2 separate regions of the Homo sapiens genome follow, and region 1 is linked to region 2. Evidence: promoter capture Hi-C in 16 types of primary human blood cells and fetal thymus (Javierre and others, 2016). All regions are on one chromosome and are shown on one strand. Each heading gives the region's core, a stretch centred on a gene start or on the middle of the fragment in contact. The rest is flanking DNA. Distances are from core to core; before and after follow the strand shown.

What was found. The method cuts DNA at HindIII sites, captures the fragments that hold promoters and counts their contacts. A CHiCAGO score of 5 or more calls a contact.
Region 1: a contact is called between a fragment that was not itself captured here and the fragment with the promoter of ZFP3 in region 2, in 2 of 17 cell types (M1 macrophages and M0 macrophages). The highest score is 6.2, in M1 macrophages.

Annotation. Positions count from the first base shown.
Region 1 is chr17:5,179,570-5,186,463 of GRCh38, forward strand. It overlaps ZNF594 (zinc finger protein 594), which reads right to left. Exons shown (of 2, transcript NM_032530.2): 2 at 1-4,707. The coding sequence starts at 4,687. The coding sequence ends at 2,264. Among named protein-coding and RNA genes, the nearest start is that of ZNF594, 8.9 kb to the right of the region's middle. The HindIII fragment of the contact is 576 bases long and covers 2,987-3,562 here.
Region 2 is chr17:5,076,352-5,083,191 of GRCh38, forward strand. ZFP3 (ZFP3 zinc finger protein) reads left to right here and starts at 2,116. Exons shown (of 2, transcript NM_153018.3): 1 at 2,116-2,224. It overlaps ZFP3-DT (ZFP3 divergent transcript), which reads right to left and starts at 1,762. Exons shown (of 2, transcript NR_186458.1): 1 at 1,536-1,762. RefSeq lists enhancers at 1,584-2,455, 1,823-1,892. The HindIII fragment of the contact is 11,376 bases long and covers 1,451-6,840 here.

The DNA.
Region 1 (6,894 bases), core at 2,025-4,524, 100 kb after region 2:
AAAAACATTCCATACTGTAACAAAAATTTCAATCTTTCAAAAGTCCAATACCCTTAGTTTGATTCAAGCTCCATCAAAGATGAATTGGTTAGTTTTTAATCTGGAGTTTACAAGTCATAGTTAATATTTCAAAAAGCCTAACATAGACGATATGTTTGCCCACAAAAGGAATAAAAAGACTAATGAAAATGGTAAATTATTTGCTTTGGGCTGGAATTTTAGTACCTAGGTCTGCCTACATGGTGCCAGTCAGAAGCATGATTTGTGTTGTACATGCCTTTATGTAGCAAAATATAATTCTTTAATAAATGCAGTTTGGTAAACATAATCTTTTAAGACACAGGACATAGGGGAGTAAAAAGAAGGCCTTGGTGATTAAAAAGTTGGAAACCACTGAATTAAATTACCTTCAAATCCCTGTAAGTATCCTGTTTATCCTTATAAACATTAGCTCTCACTGTACAGCATTGTAAAGACAAGCAGAAGAGTTAGACTTTTTTTTTTTTTTGAGATGGAGTTTCGCACTTGTTGCCCAGGCTGGAGTGCAGTGGCATGATCTTGGCTCACCGCAACCTCCACCTCCCAGGTTCAAGTGATTCTCCTGCCCTAGCCTCGCAAGTACCTGGGACTACAGGCGTGCCCCACCATGCCTGGCTAATTTTTGTTATTTTTAGTAGAGACGGGGTTTTAGTATGTTGGCTGGGCATAGTAACTCCTCATGATCAACTCGTGACCTCGTGATCTGCCCACCTTGGCTTCCCAAAGTGCTGGATTACAGGTACGAGCCACCGCACCTGGCCTACACTCATTACTTTCACAGGGTTTTTTCCCACATTTAAACTTGTCACTCGACTAGGAAGTCAAGATTGAAATGGCTCTTTCCATGAATAATTTAGTTTTGGGGTTGTTGCCAAAGTGATTTATAATGATTTTAATAATGATAGACATCCCTTAAAACATTCTCAAGTAATTAGACCCCTGGGGCTGGTGCAGTGGCTCATGCCGGTAATCCCAACCCTTTGGGAGGCTGAGGAGGGAGGAGTGCTTGAGCCCAAGAGTTCAAGTCCAGCCTGGGCAACATAGTGAGACCTCATCTCTTTGTATGTTAAAAAATAAATAATTTAAAAAATTGTATCGTTGGGACCATATTCTAGTGTCAGTTCTGAGACAGAAAAAAAAAAGGTGATTATGTCCAAGAGCTTTTGGCTTTTCCACTTGATTATACTTACGTTTGAAAAATCCAGTAGGTATTTTCTCTGCTTTCCCACCTTCCCATGGTTTTTTTCTAATAAAACTCATTTGTAGTGCAATAAGATGTGGTCTCCATCAGACTTTTCCTAGTTTTACTGCATTCATTAGGTTTCTGCTACCTATTAGAATAGGTCCTGTTTGTAGACTCTTACAGTCTTCAAATTCCTTTCCAATGTGAAGTTTCTGGTGCTTAAGAAAAGCTGTCCACCCACTGAAGGCCTTACCACAGTTGCTACATTCAAAGGGTTTCTCTCTGGTATGAATTCTTTGATGACTGACAAGGTGTGAGTTCTGACTGAAGGCCTTCCAACATTCAGGGCATTCATAGGGTTTCTCTCCAGTATGAACACGATGGTGTCTAATAAGATCTGAGCTGCCCCTAAAAGATTTCCCACATTTGTTGCATACATAAGGTTTTTCTCCACTGTGAATTCTATGATGTCTCAGAAGGTCTGAGCTCTGATTGAAAGTTTTCCCACATTCTTTACATTCATATGGTTTCTCTCCTGTATGAGTTACCTGATGTCCGATGAGGTCTGAGCTGCCCTGGAAAGCCCTACCACACTGATTACACCAATAAGCTTTCTCTTCTTGGTGAATTTTCTGCTCTCCCCTAAGCTCCTCATCCTTGCTGAAGGTTTTCTCACGTTCTTCAAGTTTCTCTCCAGCATGCAGTCTCTGATGTTTGAGGAAAGCTGTGTGCCACATGAAGAGTTTCCCACATTCCTTACATTCATAGGGTTTCTCACCACTATGAATTCTCCGACGTTGAATAAGGAGTGAACGCCGCCTGAAGGCTTTTTCACATTCAGTGCACTGATAGGGCTTCTCTCCAGTGTGGATTTTCTGGTGTGTGACAAGGTGGGACCTCTGGCTAAAGACTTTCCCACATTCACTACATTCATGAGGTTTCTCTCCAGTATGAACACGATGGTGTTTAATAAGATCTGAGCTGCTCCTAAAAGATTCCCCACATTTATTGCATACGTAAGGTTTTTCTCCACTGTGAATTCTATGATGTCTCAGAAGGTCTGAGCTCTGATTGAGTTTTCCCACATTCTTTACATTCATATGGTTTCTCTCTTGTATGAGTTACCTGATGTCTGATGAGATCTGAGCTGCCCTGGAAGGTCCTACTACACTGATTACACCAATAAACTTTCTTTTCCTGGTGAGTTCTCTGCTCTTTTCTAAGCTCCTCATCCTTGCTGAAGGTTTTCTCACATTCTTCAAGTTTCTCTCCAGCATGCAGTCTCTGATGTTTGAGGAAAGCCGTGTGCCACATGAAGAGTTTCCCACATTCCTTACATTCATAGGGTTTCTCACCACTATGAAGTCTCCGATGTTGAATAAGGAGGGAACGCCGCCTGAAGGCATTCCCACATTCACTGCACTGATAGGGTTTCTCTCCAGTATGGATTTTCTGGTGTGTAGCAAGGTGTGACCTCTGGCTGAAGGCTTTCCCACATTCACTACATTCATAGGGTTTCTCTCCAGTATGAATACGATGGTGTTTAATAAGATCTGAGCTACCCCTAAAAGATTTCCCACATTTGTTGCATACATAAGGTTTTTCTCCACTGTGAATTCTATGATGTCTCAGAAGGTCTGAGCTCTGATTGAAAGTTTTCCCACATTCTTTGCATTCATATGGTTTCTCTCTTGTATGAGTTACCTGATGTCTGATGAGGTCTGAGCTGCCCTGGAAAGCCCTACCACACTGATTACACCAATAAGCTTTCGCTTCCTGGTGAATTTTCTGCTCTCCCCTAAGCTCCTCATCCTGGCTGAAGGTTTTCTCACATTCAAGTTTCTCTCCAGTATGCAGGCTCTGATGTTTGAGGAAAGCTGTGCGCCAAATGAAGAGCTTCCCACATTCCTTACATTCATAGGGTTTCTCACCACTATGAATTCTCCGATGTTGAATAAGGAGTGAACGCCGCCTGAAGGCTTTCCCACATTCAGTGCACTGATAGGGCTTCTCTCCAGTATGGATTTTCTGGTGTGTAACAAGGTGTGACCTCTGGCTAAAGGCTTTCCCACATTCACTACATTCATAGGGTTTCTCTCCAGTATGAACACGATGGTGTCTAATAAGATCTGAGCTGCCCCTAAAAGATTTCCCACATTTGCTACATACACAAGGTTTTTCTCCACTGTGAATTCTATGATGTCTCAGAAGGTCTGAGCTCTGATTGAAAGTTTTCCCACATTCTTTACATTCATATGGTTTCTCTCCTGTATGAGTTACCTGATGTCTGATGAGGTCTGAGGTGCCCTGGAAATTCCTACCACACTGATTACACCAATAAGCTTTCTCTTCCTGGTGAATTCTCTGCTCTTCCCTAAGCTCCTCATCCTTGCTGAAGGTTTTCTCACATTCTTCAATTTTCTCTCCAGCATGCAATCTCTGATGTTTAAGAAAAGCTGTGCGCCCACTGAAGGTCTTCCCACATCTGTGACATTCATAGGGTTTCTCTCCACTGTGGAGTCTCTGGTGTTCAGTAAGGTGAGAATGCTGCCTGAAGGCTTTTTCACATTCATTACATTTGAGGGGTTTCTCTCCAGTGTGAATTCTCTGATGTGGGACAAGGTGTGAACTTTGACTGAACATCTGTCCACAGTCATAACATTCATAGGGTTTCTCTCCAGTGTGAATTCTGTGATGTATAATAAGATCTGTGCTTTGACTGAAAGCCTTCCCACATTTATTGCATAAATATGGCTTCCCCCTACTGTGGATTCTCTGGTGCAGGACAAGGTTTGAGCTTCCCTTAAAAGCCTTCCCACACTCTTTGCACTCATAGGGATTCCCACCACTGTGAATTTGCTTATGTCTCACCAGATTGGAGCTCTGATTGAAGTCTTTTCCACATTCATGACATATATAAGGTTTCTTTCCTGTATGAATTCTCTGATGTATAATAAGATTTGAACTTTGATTAGAGTCTTTCCCACATTCATTACACACATATGGCTTATTTCCTGTATGAATTCTCTGATGTATGATCAGGTTTGAACTCCTGTTGAAGGTTTTTTCACATTCCTTACATTCATAGGTCTTATTTATATTATGAATTTTCTGATGTTCAGTTAATCCTGACTTCTGTTTGAAGTTTTGGCCACTAACCTCATATCTATGGGAGCTTTCTCCTGCAGAAAGTATTTTTTCTCCTTCATTACATCCATGGCCAATCTCTCCCACAATGGCTTTCTGGGGGATAATATGCATTTCCCTGATACCGCTCTCTTGGGAAGGGAGATGTCTCATTGCATCCTTTAAAGGGCTTACCCAGTGCTTCAATAATCTGTCCTCAGAATTACTGGTTTCAACTAACTCACATTCCTGGGTGATTTGTCTTTGGAGTTTTTCGGATGCAGCCCTTGCTGACTTCTTTTCTTCAGAAATTTCCATCTTTGATTTCCATTCCTTCATCTTATTCCTGTCTTCAGAATCTGAAATGATAAGTAGATCATTCTATAATTCCTAAAATACAAATATCATCTCTTCATTATACTGGGCAGTCTAAGAGGGAGGAACAAAGAACTCAGAAGACCTTTCCCTGCCAAAGCTGAGATGTGGCTTTCACTAGCGACACTGTGGCTAACACAGGAACCTGTGCTACCACATACCCTGTTGGTGAAAAAACCCGCCAGGGTGCAGGCTGGAGCTGGGCTGTGGGAGTGGCCTAAAGGGTGGTGAATTAATTCACTGGGGGAGGAGGGCAATCTGGAGTTGGTCCACAGGAAGTGGCCTGTTGGATGGGGGAGGAACTTGCTGGATGGTGTGGCTGGGCCTGAACTGGTTCACAGGAAGCAACCCACTAGGGTAAATGCCACCAGGCCTCCCACAAGTTGATCTGCTAGCAGCCACATAAGTAAATAATTAAAATAAATAAATAAAAATAGAACAGCACACCGGTACCAGGAAGTTAGTTTCTCTTCCCATGGCCACGCATTGTCCCTCCAGCATCCTCTGTTGACAAAGTCAAATCTTGTACGAACTGGCAAAGGAGAAATGTTTACAGAATCCAGCTTTGTAACAAAAGCAAACAAAGATGGGTGGATCTGGAGTTGAGAGGCAATAAATTAATAACCAGCATACTGCTCTTTCCTCCCTATATATCATGATAGTTAAGCAAATCTGTACTATGCCTCAGAATAAAAACGTTTGGCTGTCATTTCAATAGAAATCAATTCTCTTCTTCTCAGACCTCACATTTTTCTTTCTGATATTCTGATGGAATTGCCTCCTTTTGTGTGGCAATTTGATTTCTTCTGAAATTACAAGATAGATGAGCTTATTGCTTTTGAGGGTCCACGTTATCAAATCCCTGACCTTCCCCAGTGGATTAGTCCGTTTTCATGCTGCTGATAAAGACATACCTGAGACTGGAGAGAAAAAGAGGTTTAGTTGGACTTACAGTTCCACATGGCTGGGAAGGCCTCAGAATCATGGTGGGAGGTGAAAGGCACATCTTACATGGTGGTGGCAAGAGAAAATGAGGAAGATGCAAAAGCAGAAACCCCTGATAAAATCATCAGATCTCATGAGACTTATTCACTACCATGAGAATAGTAGGGGGGAAACTGCCCCCATGATTCAAATTATCTCCCACCATATCCCTCCCACAAAACATGGGATTTATGGGAGTACAATTCAAGATGAGACTTGAGTGGGGACACAGAGCCAAACCATATCATTCTGCCCCTGGCCCCTCCAAATCTTATGTCCTCACATTTCAAAACCAATCATGCCTTCCCAACAGTCCCCCTAAGTCTCATCTCATTTCAGCATTAACCCAAAAGTCCACAGTTCAAAGTCTCAACAGAAACAAGGCAAGTCCCTTCCTCCTATGAGCCTGTAAAATCAAAAGCAAGCTAGTTACTTCCTAGATATAATGGGGGTACAGGTATTGCTGGGTAAATACAGCTGTTCCAAATGGGAGAAATTGGCCAAAACAAAGGGGTTACAGGGCCCATGCAAGTCCGAAATCCAGCAAGGCAATCAAATTTTAAACCTCCAAAATGATCTCCTTTGACTCCAGGTCTCACATCCAGGTCATGCTGATGCAAGAGGTGGGTTCCCATGGTCTTGGGCAACTCCACCCCTGTGGCTTTGTAGGGCACAGCCTCCCTCCTGGCTGCTTTCACGGGCTGGTGTTGAGTGTCTGCAGCTTTTCCAGGCATACGGTGCAAGCTGTAGGTGGATCTACCATTCTGGGGTCTGGAGGTCATTGGCCCTCTTCTCACAGCTCCACTAGAAGGTGCCCGAGTAGGGACTCCATATGGTGGCTTCGACCCCACATTTCCCTTCTGCAGTGCCCTAGCAGAGGTTCTCCATGAGATCCCTGCCCCTGCAGCAAACTTCTGGCTGGGCATCCAAGCGTTTCCATACATCTTCTGAAATCCAGGTGGAAGTTCCCAAACCTCAATTCTTGACTTCTGTGTACCTAAAGACTCAACACCATGTGGAAACTGCCAAGGCTTAGGGCACCCTCTGAAGCCACAGCTTGAGCTCTATCTACATTGGCCCCTTTCAGCCATGGCTAGAGCGGCTGGGATGCAGCGCACCAAGTCCCTAGGCTGGACACAGCATTGGGACCCTGGGCCTGGCCCACAAAACCATTTTCTCCTAGGCCT
Region 2 (6,840 bases), core at 866-3,365:
TGCACCACCATGCCTGGCTAATTTTTGTATTTTTAGTAGAGACAGGGTTTCACCATATTGGCCAGGCTGGTCTCGAACTCCTGACCTTGTGATCCTCCCGCCTTCGCCTCCCAAAGTGCTGGGATTACAGGTGTGAGCCACCGCACCTGGCCCTAATTTTTGTACTTTTAATAGAGATGGGTTTCACCATTTTGGCCAGGCTGGTTTCGAACTCCTGACCTTGTGATCTGTCTGCCTCAGCCTCCCAAAGTACTGGGATCACATGCATGAGCCACCACGCCCGGCCGGAAAATAGATATTCTGATTGAATCAGAGTTAACAAACTTCCCATGCAGTTGCAGACAGTAGGGCAAGGGAGTTAAGGATTTTAGTACCAGAGTGGCTAAAGTGATGGACCCTAGAGTCTAGGGCCTAATGGCAATGATGAATTCAAGAGAAAGTTTTCTTTCTGCTAGATTGTGTGTGGCATACAAACACAATATTCCCTTCTAAGGGTGGTCACTCCTTTCCCTATTTCATAGGATTATGGTGAGGCAAACACAGAAGCCCGCCGTCATCCTTGCGGGAAGGCAGGTGACCAGGCTTGGTAAATCACACGGTCCTTTCCCCCTTGATTGGTCCATGGTTGAGCACCAGACCCAAACAGGGCTAATCATAGTCCTTTGTAACTGATATTTGGGAAGGATAGTGTACTCTGAGGCAACATTATATAGAATGAAAGTCTTCAATGTGGTGATCTTGGAACTGACACCTAAAAACAAACTGGCTGGCTGGACGCGGTAGCTCACGCCTGTAATCCCAGCACTTTGGGAGGCCAAGGTGGGCCTAAGGTCTGACCTAAGGTCAGAAGTTCGAGACCAGCCTGACCAACATGGTGAAACCCCGTCTCTACTAAAAATACAAAAATTAGCCGGGCGTGGTGGCTGGCACTTGTAATCCCAGCTACTCTGGAGGCTGAGGCTGGAGAATCGCTTGAACCCGGGAGGTGGAGGTTGCAGTGAGCAGAGATCGTGCCATTGCACTCCAGCCTTGGCGACAAGAGCGAAACTCCGCCTCAAAAAACAAACAAAAACAAGCTGGAGGCCGGGCGCGGTGGCTCATGTCTGTAATCCCAGCACTTTGGGAGGCCGAGGCGGCCGGATCACCTGAGGTCGGGAGTTCGAGACCAGCCTGACCAAAATGGAGAAAACCCGTCTCTACCTAAAATACAAAATTAGCCGGGCGTGGTGGCACATGCTTGTAATCCCAGTTACTCGGGGAGGCTGAAGTAGGAGAATCGCTTGAATCCGGGAGGCGGAGGTTGCGGTGAGCGGAGATGGCGCCATCGCACTCCAGCCTGGACAACAAGAGCGAAACTCCATCTCAAAAAACAAACAAACAAGAAAACAAGCTGGCTGTGCAAAATTACAGAGGAAGTAACAAGGAAAGGTTCTGAGGTGAGAATGGGCCAAGCTTGCTCAGGGAACCCAGGAAGGCTAGCTGCAGAATGCTGTTTCCGTGGCCTCGGCAGCTTAACCTAGGCCTTTACTCTTAACCTTGGTAATTCCCACGCAATCTTGAGATTTCAGGCCAAACGTCACTCCTGCAAGCCCTTCCGGAACTCAAAGCATGTCTCCCTTCGCTCCCGCCGAGGAGAGACCTGTTCCCAGGATCTGCAGCCCTGTGCTTATCAGACCCACGGAGTCTGTGGAAAGGAAGGATGGGATAAGAACGATGCGGGTTGGGAGAGTTAAAAGGGTCGCGCAAACGGTCCCCGCGGGAATGCGAAGCGGATTCTCGAGTTCTTGAGCCTAGAGCAATGCTTGGGGAGCGACACGAGGGCGCAGAGCGGCAGATCGCGGAGCGGAAGTTCATCCCCGGAGCCGTTCTAGGAAACCCGGAGGACTCAGGTCGTCAATGATTCCGGGGCTGAAGTGGGCATCGACGGGTGCACTTTGCTGTTCCAGGGAGCCGGCTCGGCAGGCGGCGGCGACGTGGAACTTGGGCTAGGGCTAGAACCGGCGAAAAGCAAGCCGGAAAAGGCAAGGGGGCGTCGGTGCGCTGACCACCTGTTCCTCCAGCGGAGTGCGACGCGCGCCGATTGGCTGGAGTGCCGCCCGGGTACCGGAAGTGGCCGATGCCCGTCGCCAGTGACACCGGGACAACAGCTGCGGGCTCTGTGCGAGCGGCCCAGCAGCGCGGAGCCTCAGCGGAGTGAGCGAGCGCGGGGCAGTAGCGGCCTGCGGTGAGACCTCATTCCGTCGCGGCTGTGGGGGTAGGCGGGGGCTGGGCTCCCAGCTCCCTAGAGAGCCGAGCGGAAACCCTACGTTTAGGCCCGTTCTGACCGGGGTTCGCTGTGTGACCTTGAAGTTTATGCCTCCCTCCATTCCCCCCGCCCCCAGGCCTTCATTTCCACCTGCACACAGAGAGGGTGGGGCCTGGACACCGCCAGGGACAGTCCCAGCTCTGGTTTGGTGCCTGTCAGCCGTGGGGGTGGGAGAAGCAGGGACACTCCCTTCTGTACCGAGGTGGGGACCCGTGGGAGCTGTGGTTTTCTCAGACATTCCACCCCCAAGTAAACCGCTAGGACGAAATGGCGGGCAGTGTCACAAACTTAACGCCCTAGTGGCAGATTGTGCCCTGTGCTGCCAGACAAGATATTGGCTTATGAGGGGTGGTCGTGAAAAGGAGACAGGTTTGAGCTGCAAAGATAGAGCCCTATTGTGGGTCAGAGGGAGAAGAGAGGAAAGGAGGTTAACAGTGCCATAAATTAAATATCACCCAGATTGGGAAAAGGAACTTATTTTTACAAACAGTTATCGACACCAGCTATGTGTCAGACACTATCCTAGGCTCTTTAGATATAATGATGAATGAAATATCCAGTTAGCCATCAAGAGTATTACAGAGGCTGGGTGCAGTGGCTCATGCCTGTAATCCCAGCATTTTGGGAGGCCTAGGCGGGAGGATCACTTGAGCACAGGAGTTCAAGACCAGCCTGGGCAACATAGTGAGACACCATCTGTACAAAAAACAAAGAAATTAGTTGGGTAGTTGGGTGTGGTGGCGCATGCTTGTAGTCCCAGCTACTTGGGAGGCTGAGGTGGGAGGATTTTCTTGAGCCTGGGAAGTTGAAGCTGCAGTGAGTCTGGGCAATAGAGCCAAGACCCTGTCTCAGAAAAAAGGGAGGTATTGCAGATTCATTATATATATAAGACAGTTACACAAATTCACTTAACATTTACCAGGTATCTGAAATATGCTAGGTACTCAGAATACCAGGATGAATGGAACAGCATCCTTGCTTATGGTCTAGAGAAGAAAATAGGTATGAAAAATTAATAATGCAGTGGGGTAGCTGCTACAAGGTGAAGGAGTAGCTGTCTGCCTTAGAGCCTGGGGGTCAGGGAAGAAAATGGAGGGGGTCAGCTGGGCGTGATGGCTCATGCCTGTAATCCCAGCACTTTGGGAGGCAAAGGTGGGCGGATCACCTGAGGTCAGGAGCTCGAGACCAGCCTGGCCAACATGGTGAAACCCTGTCTCTACTAGAAATACAAAATTAGCCAGGCGTGGTGGCAGATGCCTGTAATACCAGCTGCTTGGGAGGCTGAGGTGGGAGAATCGCCTGAGCCTGGGAGGCGGAGGTTGCGGTGAGCCAAGATTGCGCCATTGCACTCCAGCCTGGGAGACAGAGCGAGGCTCCATCTCCAAAGAAAAAAAAAAAAATAGGTATCGTGGTTTCAGGACTGATTAATCCAGTGGCCCTGGCAGCATCTCCCTTGTTTTTCTGAGCTTTAGCTGCCCTCATCCACAGGCTGGTAGTGAGATGGCAGCAGCAGGTACAGGCAATAATATATGGAAGTATTTTCCTATGGTTCTCTCAGGATGGCAGGAAACTATTCCCAGAAGCTCCCAGCAAACGTCCTCAAAATATTGACCCAGATGAAGGTGGATGTCCATTTCCAAACCAGGAATTCCCGAATCCTTGCTGTTTCTGAACCAGTGCCTTGCAAGAATTAGGGCATTTATTTGACTGGGTTAACTCAGTTGGAGTGTCCTGCTGGAGCTCTTGGATGAGGTTAGATCTCTGGCAAGGAAAGCAAAGCCACTGCAAATATTTTTGCTCACATACCCCGTAAAATAATTTTGGAAGGTTTGTGTCTCTTTATACATTTGCAAGTTGACATCCAAAACATTTCCATTTCTCATCATAAATTTTAATGAGTTTCAAAGGATATTATTTTTGAGGTATTAAAATTTCGACATTTCAAAATAAAACCTCATCCCAGTTTCCCAGATACCTTCCCTTGGTTACCTTCCCTTGGAGCACAAAGAAGGTGCTCATCACATCCTTCACCCTCTCTGTAACCTCCATCTCTTAGCACCCCACTCCTCCCAGCCCCCCTTCATTTCCATCCGTATCTCACTTAGTCATCTCAGCTCTGTCCTGACTAACCTCCCTAGGCCTCGCCTCCTCAGTCTTCCACCACACATCTCCCTGGATTCTCAGGCTGCCAAAACTGCCACTGAAAGAAGTCAGGAGAGCATGGTGATTGGCCCCTCTTCACTCTGATGCTCTCCAGCTTGCTTGTTTCATGAGGTGGTGGTAAGGGTTAATGTCTGTAAGTTGCTTAGCACATGGTGAGAGCTTATCATTAGCCTCCACATCAAAATGTCAGTGCTGCCTGGCTCATCTCCCCTCCATATTTATCCCACCCCGTGCATGCTACATTGAAATCCCAATGTTTTTTCTGTTTCTGTTCTTTTTTTTTTTTTTTCTTTTTTGAGATGGAGTCTCACTCTGCACTGGAGTGCAGTGGCACAATTTTGGCTCACTGCAAGCTCGGCCTGCCCCGGGCTTCACACCATTCTCCTGCCTCAGCCTCCCGAGTAGCTGGGACTACAGGTGCCTTCCACCACACCTGGCTAATTTTTGTATTTTTACTAGAGGTGGGGTTTCACCGTGTTAGCCGTGATGTCTGTTTCTTTTCTTACTCCTCCTGTACTTCCTGGCCTCTTGCTTGCCCACTTTCTGTCCGGAATGCTATAGTGCAGTGGTCTTCAGATGGAAATATGTGGAGGGGGTACACAGACACTTTCTGTAACATCTTTGGGCACATAGATTGTTGAATGGAAATCAACTTCTAGATCCTTGACTTTATTTTGTATCCTTGCCTATGAGTGATCTGCTTAAGAATGGGCCTGTGGCCTGTAGGTTTCTCTTCTCTCACATTTTTTCACAATTGTTCTTTTCTTCATTTTATTTTATTTTATTTTATTTTATTTTTTGAGACGGAGTCTCGCTCTATCACCCAGGCTGGAGTGCAGTGGTGCGATCTTGGCTCACTGCAAGCTCTGCCTCCCGGGTTCACGCCATTCTCCTGCCTCAGCCTCCCGAGTAGCTGGGACTACAGGTGCCTGCCACCACGCCCGGCTAATTTTTTGTGTTTTTAGTAGAGGCGGGGTTTCACCGTAATAGGCAGGATGGTCTCGATCTCCTGACCTCGTGATCCACCCGCCTCAGCCTCCCAAAGTGTTGGGATTACAGGCGTGAGCCACCACGCCTGGCCCTTTTCTTCTTTTATAAAAGAAAGACACCGGCCAGGCATGGTGGCTCACGCCTGTAATCCTAGCACTTTTGGAGGCCGAGGTGGGTGGATCATTTGAGGTCAGGAGTTTGAGACCAGCCTGGCCAACATGGTGAAACCCCGCCTCTACTAAAAATACAAAAAACAGGCTGGGCACGGTGCCTCACGCCTGTAATCCCAGCACTTTGGGAGGCCGAGGCGGGTGGATCATGAGGTCAGGAGATCGAGACCATCCTGGCTAACAGGGTGGAACCCTGTCTCTACTAAAAATATAAAAAATTAGCCGGGCCTGGTGGTGGGCGTGTGTAATCCCAGCTACTAGGGAGGCTGAGGCAGGAGAATCGCTTGAAACCAGGAGGCAGAGGTTGCAGTGAGCCAAGATCACGCCACTGCACTCCAGCCTGGGCGACAGAGTGAGACTCCGTCTCAAAAAAATAATAAGTAAAATAAAATAAATAAAGACACCACTCACGCATCTCCTTAAGGTTACCATGGTGCATCCCTCTGCAGTGGAAAATCCTCTAGCGTGCCATACAGAGACAATTTGTTGAAGAAGTGAGTTTTTTGGACGTTTTGTAATACAAGTCCCAATCTTTGCTCCCAACAAAATTTTACTTAATTTTTTGAGACAGGGTCTCTTATTCTGTCACCCAGGCTGGAGTGCAGTGGTGTGATCATAGCTCACTGCATCCTTCACCTGCCAGCCTCAGGTGATCCTCCCACCTCAGCTGCCCAGGTAGCTTGGGATTATAGGCATTCACCACCGTGGCTGGCTAATTTTTTTGTAATTTTTCTAGAGACAGGTTTCGCCCTGTTGGCCAGGCTGGTCTCAAACTCCTGGGCTTAAGTGATGTACCCACCTTAGCCTCTCAAAGTGCCGGGATTATAGGCGTGCCCAGTCCCAACAGAATTTTTAAAAGATGTAATCAGGTTGTCAGTCAGCTGCCAGATTATGCCGTAATGTTTTACTACAAATCACTGTGTGGCTTTTTGGCAGATAAGTTCAAAAAGTTGTGATATTGCTACAAGAGATTGCTGTAAATGCAGGTTGATGCAGTTTGGGCAAAATCAGGTCCAGTTACAGTAACTAGAGTCAGTTTGTTAAGCATAAGAGAAAGGTGGTTTTTAACTCAGAAGAGGTATGCAGTCAGTTGTATTATATCTGTCTGCTGTCAGGTTTAGGGGAGGGGAGGGGCAATCTAGATTGAGAAGAGGAAAAAAGTCAGAGCAGGAACTGGCAATGTACCCATAATTCTGCTGCTCGACACCTGTG